2 separate regions of the Homo sapiens genome follow, and region 1 is linked to region 2. The links are contacts of gene promoters, found by promoter capture Hi-C in human tissues and cell types (Jung and others, 2019). All regions are on one chromosome and are shown on one strand. The core of a region is centred on a gene start or on the middle of the fragment in contact, and the rest is flanking DNA. Distances in the headings are between cores, read along the strand shown.

The links. The method cuts DNA at HindIII sites, captures the fragments that hold promoters and counts their contacts. A contact is called where the count stands out against the background at its distance.
Region 1: a contact is called between a fragment that was not itself captured here and the fragment with the promoter of FOXF1 in region 2, in 1 of the 25 tissues and cell types used here (IMR-90 fibroblasts).

Annotation. Positions count from the first base shown.
Region 1 is chr16:86,225,025-86,229,910 of GRCh38, reverse strand. It overlaps LINC01081 (long intergenic non-protein coding RNA 1081), which reads left to right. Exons shown (of 6, transcript NR_104139.1): 4 at 3,134-3,271; 5 at 3,949-4,064; 6 at 4,244-4,331. Among named protein-coding and RNA genes, the nearest start is that of LINC01082, 31 kb to the right of the region's middle. The HindIII fragment of the contact is 3,067 bases long and covers 710-3,776 here.
Region 2 is chr16:86,507,014-86,512,425 of GRCh38, reverse strand. It overlaps FOXF1 (forkhead box F1), which reads right to left and starts at 1,899. Exons shown (of 2, transcript NM_001451.3): 1 at 878-1,899. The coding sequence starts at 1,856. FENDRR (FOXF1 adjacent non-coding developmental regulatory RNA) reads left to right here and starts at 3,566. Exons shown (of 4, transcript NR_033925.1): 1 at 3,566-3,771. RefSeq lists an enhancer at 1-406. The HindIII fragment of the contact is 9,827 bases long and covers 1-5,412 here.

The DNA of each region.
Region 1 (4,886 bases), core at 994-3,493, 280 kb after region 2:
TCATGGTGAAGATTGTCTGTGCTTGGCATTCCTAACATCAAGAGCAACAGGCAGTCTTTGCTGAGGGCTCACTATCCACAGAGTTGCATTAATCCCCACAGCACCTTCTAATAAAACAGTTTTATGCCCATTTTGCAGAGGAGGAAACTGAGGCATAAGGAAACCAAGTGTGTTGACCACAGTCACCACTAGTGAATGCTGGAGCTGGGATTCAAGTCCAGGCAGGTGACCCAGAACCCATGCCCCTCCCCATTGTGTCACAACCCCTCTGTGGTGTGGGTATGGTCTCATTTTCTCCATTTTCTACTGGACAAAAAGGGTGCATAGGGTGACTAGGAAATTCATCAGAAAATAACACGGAGCCCTGTCTAACCATGAGCACACAGCAGCCCAATCCCAGCTGAGGAACATTCTGAAAACACCTGAGTGGCCTCCTTCACACTGTCAAGGTCGTCAGAAACAAGGGGAGGCCAACAGGCTCCCAGCACAAAGGAGCTGAAGGAAACCTGATGGTTAATGCCATGTGGGCTCCTGGACAGGATCCTGGGGCAGAAAGAGGACATTATGTAAAAACAAAGGAAATCTGAATAAAGTATGGACTTTAATTAATAATGAAATAATAACATATTAATATGGGTTCATTAACTGTAATCAATATAATTGGTTTCTTAAATGTACTAGACTAATGTAAGAAGTTAGCAATAACCAGAGTGGGTGTGAGGTATATGGGGACTCTCTGTACTATTTTCTCAATTTAGTGTGTTCTTAAAAAAGTAAAATCAGTTAAAAAGAATAAGATGGCAGGAAAGATGGATAGCGAGAGGAAGTGATATGGTTTGGCTCTGTGTCCCCACCCAAATCTCATCTCAAATTGTAATCCCCTTCATCTCTACGTGTTGAGGGAAGGACCTGGTGGGAGGTGATTGGATCATGGCAGCAGTTTCCCCCATGCTGTTCTCATGATAGTGAGTTCTCACGAGGACTGATGGTTTTATAAGTGTTTGACAGTTCCTCCTTCACTTTCTCTCTCTCACCTGCCAGCATGTAAGACATGCTTGCTTCCCCTTCCGCTATGATTGTCAGTTTCCTGAGGCCTCCTCAGCCTCTTTATAACAATGTGAGAATGAACTAATATGGGAGGGAGGGAGGGAGGGAGAGAGGGAGGGAAGGAGGGAAGGAAGGAAGGAAGGAAGGTAGGTAGGGAGGGAGGGAGGGAGGGATTATACAAGAATCACAGGATCGTGACAGTTGCAGAATCTTGGTGTGGATACATGTGTACTATTTGTGTAATTTTTCTGTATGTTTGAAATATTTTATAATACAATGTTGGGAAGATAAAAAGGTATCAGAGGCTAAGGGCAGTATTCAAGTCTCACCCAAACCAAGTTTCCTTATTCCTTTGTGTGTGGGTGCATCCTCCCTGGAGGAGGAAAAGCACTACTCACTAATCATGAAAGCTTCATCACCAGCACACAACGGCAGGACACGGCATCTCTGCAGTGTATGATGTGGCCGCTGACACCAGGATCCCTTTTTCTTCCCAAGTAGATCCAAATCTTGACAGGGCCAGCATCCAAGTCTCTGAATGCCAAGGAAACAGGGCTAAAGAACAGACCCAGGGGATGTGTAACTCATCCTTCCCTCCTCATAAGCCACAGTCAGTGCCAGTCAGGGCATCAGCACACGTTACAGGCACGAGCTTTGCACTCAGCACCCCCTGGGCCACAGAAGGGGAAGAACCTCACACCCCAGGACCAAAGAACCTGTCGAGATTCAGCAAAAGTCCTGCAAAGAGAAAAACACACATCTGGTGGCAGGAGGAGGGCGCGGGGGCGGGACGGGCATGCTGCCGCTCCCAAGGCCCCTCCTCTGGCTGATTGAGGACGGGACGCACAAACAACCCCAAATGCTTCCAGTCTGGTCCTCGAGGAGAAAGGATATTTGTGGTAACGGAGAAATTTGCCACCCAGCGCTGTTGCTTTGGTGTCATGTTTCTGCGGTCACAAGTTATTCATCCAAAATTGGTCTCTGCTAAGAAACAACAAGAAAAAAAGTCCATGCAACAAAATGGGATTTGAAGTGATCTTCCATTCTGGGGTTGATATTGGGGAAATGAAGAGAAAAAACAAAAGCAGAAGAAAAGAGAGAATAGTATATTGGACTGAAGTCCTTCCACCTCACTCCATCCTCCGACACGGGGAACCAGGCTTCCTCCCACAGAGTCAGGATGGGCTTCCTGCCTGCCAGGGAAGGTCTAGACTCTGCGACACAGATGCTGGGGTGTGCTCTCAAAAGGCCAATGGCTAAGGCACACCCAAGTGGGGATCCCAATTCAGAATGCCTGGGACACAGTGGAGAATTCCCTTAAGACAGCAGAACCGGATTTCAGGATCCCATGAACCACCTTCCTTGCCCTCCTCTTGCCTGTTGGAGGAATATTTTCTCAGTCAGCCTCTGGGTTGGTCGCTGGAAAATAGTTATCCAGGCAGCAGCAGCAGCAGCCTACTAGGACATAGCACATAGGTCATCTGGCTGAGGTCCCCCTGCCCACAGGCACGACCCAGCTCTCCATCTGCAGGATAGGTGGCTGGGCCACCCACCCCAGGCCCAGGGAGGCTTCAGCATTTCACAAGCTCATCAACTTCAGCTCCACAGCACCGGCCACTCCCGGGTGCTGTGGACCCCTTCCAAGTGCTCAGAGATGCTCAGGGTCAGACCAGGGTGGAGTCCTGGCCCTGCCGTGTGAGAGGTCAAGTTGCTTGGATCTTGCTGAGCCTTGGGAGCTCAAGGTACAAAATGACAATGGCGATGACGCCCACCCCGCGAGGTTTTGGGAAGTCAACCATTCAAAGTGCTTCACCTGGCATTGGACCAAGGTGAGCGCTCAAAATATGTTACCATAATTATCAGGTGGACACAGCAAACAGCTTGGGTCTAATCCCTCTCCTGGGATCTGGGCCTCACCTGCCTGCAGCTAAGCAGTAAAGGAGCTGAGATTCGAAAGCAGGGAGTCTGGGCTCCTACAGGAGTGGTGAGAAAGGGTGGCATGATGGGAAGGCTGGGTCACCCACTACAGATAGAGCCAAACATGCCTAGAGTGTGCCCACCCCTTTCCATCCCTACCCCATTGCAGGTGCAGGTGGAGACGGAACCCTAGACACTGCTCATCCCAATCAGGCCCTTTCCAGGCCTGTCCCATTCCAATCGGGCATCAGATGTGGCATTGATCATCATCTACTTAACAAACGAGGCTCCCCTTTCAATGCACTTGGTGAGTTCACAGGCTACAGGTGGGCAATCCACAGGACCCCCTTGCCTCCCCTCCTGGCCTTCCCCCCTACCACCCCCAATATCAAGTGCAGCTGTGGGTTTTTGTGCTAATGAGCATTACAATGTGGTCAGCTTTTCATCTTATTGTTTCTTCTGATGACTGGAGATTTACCTCATGCAGAAGAGAGTGGAATACTGAGGGTGGGTGCCCCAACTCCCTAAAGCCCTGCTCTGCACTGATGGCCGGAGGTGGGCTAGAAACCAACTGGTTCGGCTGGAGAAGAGGAAGCAACTCATGGACAAGGGTCCCCTTGGGGGGTGGGTCCTTTGGAGAAGGGCCCACAAGGTGTAGAAAGAGCACAGTCCCCAGTCACTGAGCAGCACCATGTGCCCTGGGAAGACACCTCTCAACCCGCCAGCCCCAGGGCTTGCCCTCCTCCTGGGAGAGACTGACAAGTGCTGAAGCTGCCAAGCAATCACAGACAGAGCCAAAGAGCCAAGATATCAGAGGCCTGAGATGATAATGGAGTTGGATTCCTGGAACTAGTCTATCCCAACACCACTTATTGTTTCACCAATCCATTCATTTACTCAAAGAATTACTCATTCAAAATATAAAAGCATTCCATTTTGGTTTCAGAAGAAAAATTACTCATTCATTCAACAAACATTCCACAGGGTCTCCTCTGGGCCAACCTTGGTTCTGAGATAGCAGGTGCTGAAATACTGCTGAATCCTCAAAGCCAGACTAGCCAGTGCCTGGCACCTGATGGGAATATGATTTCAACGAACAGGTGGGTGGATGAATGGATGGATGGATGGACAAATGGGTGGAAGGGTGGATGAATAAATGGGTGAATGGGTGGTGGTGGGTGGGTGGATGACCCTCACCTCCTCACAGAAAGTAATCTTTGCTGTGTTCACATAAAATCCACACAACAATCTCTCTCTCTTTTTCTCTCTCTCTGGAAAGAAATGAAGAGACCACCCAGAAATACAGACCCAGCCTTTCATTCTCTTATATTCCTTATGTCCAACATTTATTGGGCCCTTACCATGTGCTCCATATGGTGCTGGGTCCTGGGAGTTGGAGTTACAAACAACTAAGATGACAGACTTTGCTCCAAGTAGGGATTCTTGGCTCTCAGCCCCATGGAGAAAGTCTCCTTATCACCTTTCTGCACAGGGGAGGAAATCGAGATCAAAAAAGTTAAGAGACTGAGTTAAGGCCACTCCATCAGCTGCCCCAAAGCCCCTGTGTCTGCTCTGGCTGGCACTCTGAGGTCCCACTGCTGACAAGAGTGGAGTAAGAGGAAAAAGAGGTGATGTGCAATTGTGTGAGGAGTTCTTACCACTCAGGGATTCAGAGGCTGAAGGAAGGTGAGGGCTGGAAGGTCCAGGGAAGGCTTTAAGGAGAAAGAGAGAGGCAGGTAGTGGGAATGAGGTGGGGTGCTGTAAGCTCTAAAGGTCAGAGAGGATGAAAGGGAGTGACCCTTGGTCAGACCAGAGGCTGAGCCACCTTCAAATGCGATTGGCCCTAGCATCAGGTCTGCATTCCCCTCCCCTGCCCTTTATCCTTACCACCATTACCACCACCACCAACATCATCATCATCA
Region 2 (5,412 bases), core at 650-3,149:
AGAGGCTGCCTAAGGCCTCCAGGCCTGGCTCCTGCCTCCTGGGGCTGCTGACAGCTGACCCTGGACTGGCCCTGGCAAGCTCACTCCAGCTTTTTCCAGAGCTGGGCCTGCAGGCTGCGGGGGGCCTGGGGCAGAATCAGGAGGCGAGGCTGCTGCATCTCCCTTGGCAGATGCTTCTGCATGTTCGGGGTATTGGGGTATCAGGGGTGTTGGGGGTGTGGGGACCTGAAAACTTGGATCCTAAAAAACAAGGAGCCCCCATGGCCCGGTCTGCAGCTCTGACCCTCCGGGGCCTGGCCACGGCACCCTCCTGCCTCAGTCACCACAAAATGCCCCTGGACTCAGCTGTGGGTCTGCCAGGTCTGGTCCCCTGAAAGGCCGGGGCTGAGCCTCTGAGCGCTGGCCCAGCGGCTTTGGGCCTAACACCTTCCGTTCCGCCCAGCCCCAGGCAGAGGCAGCCCTCCAGGCAGCCTGAGGGCCACCACCAGGGAGGGACAGCCATCTGGCCAGCGCTGGGAGCCTTGGGTCCATCCCAGGATCTTTCCAAGCTGTGAGGGGACTTAAGGGACACAAAAGGACTTAGGGCACTGGGGTCTGGGACATCTGGCTCAGGACCAGCCTACCTGGTCAGGCCTGGAGCAGCTGGCAGCTGGAGTTCGAACAGAAAGAGAAACAGATTGGCCCAAACTAGGGTCAAGAGCGGTAGTCACTCTTCGAAGGGGGAGAGGTGGGGCCAAGAGACACCTTGGGGAGCTGGTGCCTCCCCTCAGCCTTGGGGTTCCGACCACAGAAGTGGAGGGGCTCGCCCCAGCTGGGTCCCGCTGCCACTCAGACTCGACTTCCCGGGGACCAGGGCGCCCTCGGCCTCCCCACTCACCTTGCAGCTCGGCTGGGGCGTTGTGGCTGTTCTGGTGCAGATACGGCTGCTCCAGGGAGTGCGTGGAGAGGCTGCCGGACAGGGGGTTGGCCGCGGGGTTACAGGGGGACAGGGGCTGCTGCTTGATATAAGAGGCGCCGCTGTTGAGCGCCGCGGACGCCGAGGGCGGCCAGGCCGCCGCCGAGCCCGAGTAGACGGCGTGCGGCTCCATGACCCCACCGGCGCCGGTGGGCAGCAGCGGGGAGGCGGGCACCGAGCTGTCGTGGTGCGGGTACTCGCCGGCCGCCGCGCCGCCGCAGCCGCCCATGTACGAGTGGCCGCCGTTGGAAGGCAGGTGGGGCACCGAGTGGCTGGGCAGGGCCATGCCGTCCACGTTGCCCGGCAAGTGGCCGTTCATCATGCCCAGGCCGCCCTCCAGCGCCAGGCTGTTGGGCGGGCACGAGAGGCCGCCGGCCGAGCCCTGGAAGCCGTAGGTGTCCGGGAGGTGGTTGAAGCCGAGCCCGTTCATCATGCTGTACATGGGCTTGAGCGCCTGGCATTTCCTTCGGAAGCCGCGCGGCCGCCGCCGAAAGGAGCCCTCCTCGAACATGAACTCGCTGGCCGGGTCGATGGTCCAGTAGTGGCCCTTGCCGGGCCGCCCAAGGCCCTTGGGTAGCTTGATGAAGCACTCGTTGAGCGAGAGGTTGTGGCGCACGGAGTTCTTCCAGCCCTGGTAGGAGCCCCGGAAGAAGGGGAAGCGGCTCTGCAGGAACTGGTAGATCTCGCTCAGCGTCAGGCGCTTGGTGGGTGAACTCTGGATGGCCATGACGATGAGCGCGATGTAGGAATAGGGCGGCTTCTCCGGGCGCCGGATGCCGGCGTTGGTCTTCTTGGCCTTGGACGGGCCGGACGACGCGGGGTCCATGGCCGCGCCGCCTCCCCCGCCGCCGCCGCCGCCGCCGCCGTGCGGTGGCTGCTGCTTCTCGGGCGCCGAAGACATCGGGTGGCTGCTGCCGCCGCCGCCGCTGCCGCCGCTGCTCTGCGCCGCGGACGGGCCGGGAGGAGGAGGAGGAGGAGGAGGAAGAGGACGACGGGGGGGAGGAGGGCGAAGGGGAGGGGGCTGCGCGCGCGGGGCTGGCTGCACCTCTGCCGTCATCGGCGGCCACTTCTCCCGAGCGAGCCGCGGCGCGCCCGCCCCCGCGCTCCCGCCCGCCCTCCCCGAGGAGCTGCTGGATCCGCCGGCGGTTGGCTCAGAGCCCCTCTCTCTCCAACTCCCGCCTCCCCCACCTCTCTCCTCCCTCTTTCTTTCTCGCCCTCCCACAAGGAAAGGAGCCGAGCTGAGGCCGAGGGCAGCCCGGGCGAAGGCCGTGAGGAAGCTACCCCCGCCGGTATTTTTTGGGGGGAGGCACCACCTCCAGGTCTTACGGCCGTGCGCCCCAGCCGGGAGCAGCCCTGAGTCCCCGCCGCCCGCGGCGCTCGGCTCCGAGATTCCGGGCGAGGCAGCCTTCACTCCATCTCCGCTCGGCTGCGTCTCGCGGGTCGGCCTAAGACCCTCCCGGAGTTCCCTCCCTCCGTCCCTGCCCCCCTCGGGCCCCCGCGTTGGTGGGCGCTTAAAGAGCCCCCACTCTCGCCGCCCCGCGGCCGCCAGCAGAATCCGCCCCGCCTCCACCAACCTGGCGAGCAAGTGTTAATGCGCCCTCCGCCCGCGGTTCAGCCCCGGTGCGCGCTGGACCCCGCCTTCCCCGCCCGGGCGGCGCGGCGGGAAACGCTCCCTGGGCCGGGGCCTTCCCCGACGCGCACAGCCCTGTAGCAAATCGCAAGTGCGGCGGCCTCCCGGTCGTGACCATCGCAGGCACAGCCGGCTCGACTCCGGTCCTCGCGGCCGGCCGGCTAAGTTCCCGCGAGGGACCGCCTACCCACTCTCCCCGCCCCGGGAAGAACTGCGCCGCTCCCGGGATTTTTCGGACTCGCCCAGCAGCTTGCGAGCGGGCGGGCAGCCGCCGGGGCAGAGCGCAGGCGGAAAACGAAAGCGCAGCACGAGTCGCGGCCGCTTTGTCTCGGGCGCCGCGGGCCTGACGGGGGCGAGTGAGAACCCGCTGGCCCAGAGGCGACCCAGACCGCACAGGCCCCTGAATAAGCGGCGTGCTCAGTCACTCACCCGTGCGCGCACACCCTCGCGCTCTTGTCCACACATTAGCACACACATACATGTCTTGATGCACATGCAAACCCGGTAAATTACGCAAACAGACGTGTAAACACACCCATGCGTGTGTGCACACTCATATGCAGAGGGCGCTCAGGCATGTGCGCACCCACTAATGCACTCGTTGACACGGAAGCTTAAGGCCCACAGGAGCTTAAGTTCGCACTCACTCCCACTCACGCGTACACACGCCACGCTCGGATCTGAACTCACACGTAGTTCAGTTGCCCTCCCCCACCCCCAACACACACTGAAAACCCGCCTATTTGGCCCCGCGGCCCCGTTTTCAAAGCGCAGGTTCCGATTTCCCGAGAGATGGCAAAGGCCCTGGCAGGAAGTTTACAGGGTTTAACGTAAACAAGTTCTGGGGGATTCTTTAATAATAATAATAGAGAATTCCGCGTGCGCAGGGCGGGAGGGGGGAGTTGGCCTAATGCCCCTGTGGGCTCGGCCTGCCGCCGCCGCGGGGCCTCTGACACTGCGCGCCAGGCCAGGTTCCTGAGAGCAGACAGCGCGGGCTGGGAGCGCCGGCAAGGGCGGCCCTCGCGCACCTGGCTGCCAGCCCGCAGGGGGCTCGCACGCAGACCTGCCCTTGCCACCTCAGCGCTCGGGTGCGGGCTGGGGGCGGTGGAGCCACGAAAGGTGGTGCCGAGAGCGGAGCGCAGGACAGCGCAGGAGCCCCGGCGCATCGCGGCGCGCACAGACCCAGGTGAGTGCTGCTCTCGCAGCGACTGCTGGCCGGGCGCGGCCTCTCCCTCCAGGGTTCCGAGTTGAGAAGAGGGGGGCGAGGGGTGTTTTCGCGGGTCATCGCGAAGAGCCTAGAGGCCAAGCCCCAGCGCGAGCTGGGGCGAGAGGCGTGTGCCGGGCTCGCAGCACGGCCCGCGGCGCGGCGCGTTCAAAGCCTACCCGCCTCTCGGTTTTCTCCGGACTCCTTGTCTCCCGCTAACTACCCGCCCCCACCTTCCTGGCTCGGACGCCTTCATTTTCGGCGGGAGACGCCTGTCGCCTTCGGGGCGCCTGGCACGTCGGTGAGAGGAGCTGGGGGGCTCGCCGGCGCAGCCTGCCGGGCAGTCGCCGCCTCCTCCGCCAGATCTGCGCTCGCGGGAGAAGAGAGCCGCCTTCCCGCGCTGCCCTTCCGCTGGCCTCTCTGGGTCTCCGCGTGCAGACAGCCTGGCCCGCCTAGGGAAAGAATGAGTGTGGGACGTGACCCGTAGTGTGTGGTTGTGCATTCACGCAGGTAAACGCTCTCTGGCAGACCCGCTACCACTTCACACAACCAGCTCAGCCTCCGCGCACACAGACACGCTCCGCACCGCCCACGGCCTCAAACACCCTTCCCAGCGACCCTCACACAGCTCAGGCGCTCCCAACCCTTGGACCAACACACAGGCCTGCCCAACGGGGAGGGCACACTTTGGTTTAAGTGCACACTTCATGCACGCCCACATGTTCTCCACTGCGCGTTCGCCCACGCATAGCCAGGCGCCACGCGCAAATAATCATAGGTACCGCCGCTCCATACGTGCGCACGCGTCCACGAACACAAGCATTCTCACATTCTCTCCCAACTTTTGTGTGTGTGTGTGTGGCAAATGGCAGTTGCAGATGAGGAGACCCTGGCCTCCGGAGGAAAGTTCTGTTCCCAGGAAGGGGTCGCTACTGCCGACTGCCAGAGCACATCTGGCCCTTAGCAGAGGTGAGCAGAGAAGGCTGCACAGCTCTTAAGCCAGCTAGGGGTGCAGGGCGCACGCTGCGGCTCGCTGAAAGTGGAAATAGCATCTCCCTTCCCCTCGCCCCTCCCCCACTCATGGGGCGCCTTCAAAGTGAGCGGGTCCCTAGAGCATGAAGTTGGGGAGCCCTTTCCCAGCAGACTCCTTCACTCCTGGGCCCTCTTCAGTTGGGGAAGGGAAGCCGCAGGTCCCATCGTTGGCTAACCCGGAGATCCATTTTTCCCTCCTTTCCACCCTTCTTTCTGCCCTTTCACCGGCTCTGATAGCAAACCAGACCTTACAGAACAGCCAGTCACGGAGCCCAGCGAAAGAGCCGGCCCAGTAGGCCTGGGAGTCTCAGGAAGGCCAAAGATGGAGGCTCTCCCCAACTGCTCATCTCTACTGCTGGGTGTGTGTAGAAGTGGGGGCGTGAGAGAGGAGGCGAATGAGCTCCCAGCTCTGTAATTTGGAGGGGACCCCCTGAATTCTGGGGAAAACCACAGCCGTAGCAAGAAGGGCTTTCCTTCATGCTCAGAGACTTCATTCTCAGCTCTTACAATGTCCCTGAGAGGTCTCCCTTGATCCTACATTTTTAGGGTGGAGAAACTGAGGCTCAGCATGGACTTGAATCTCTTATCAGC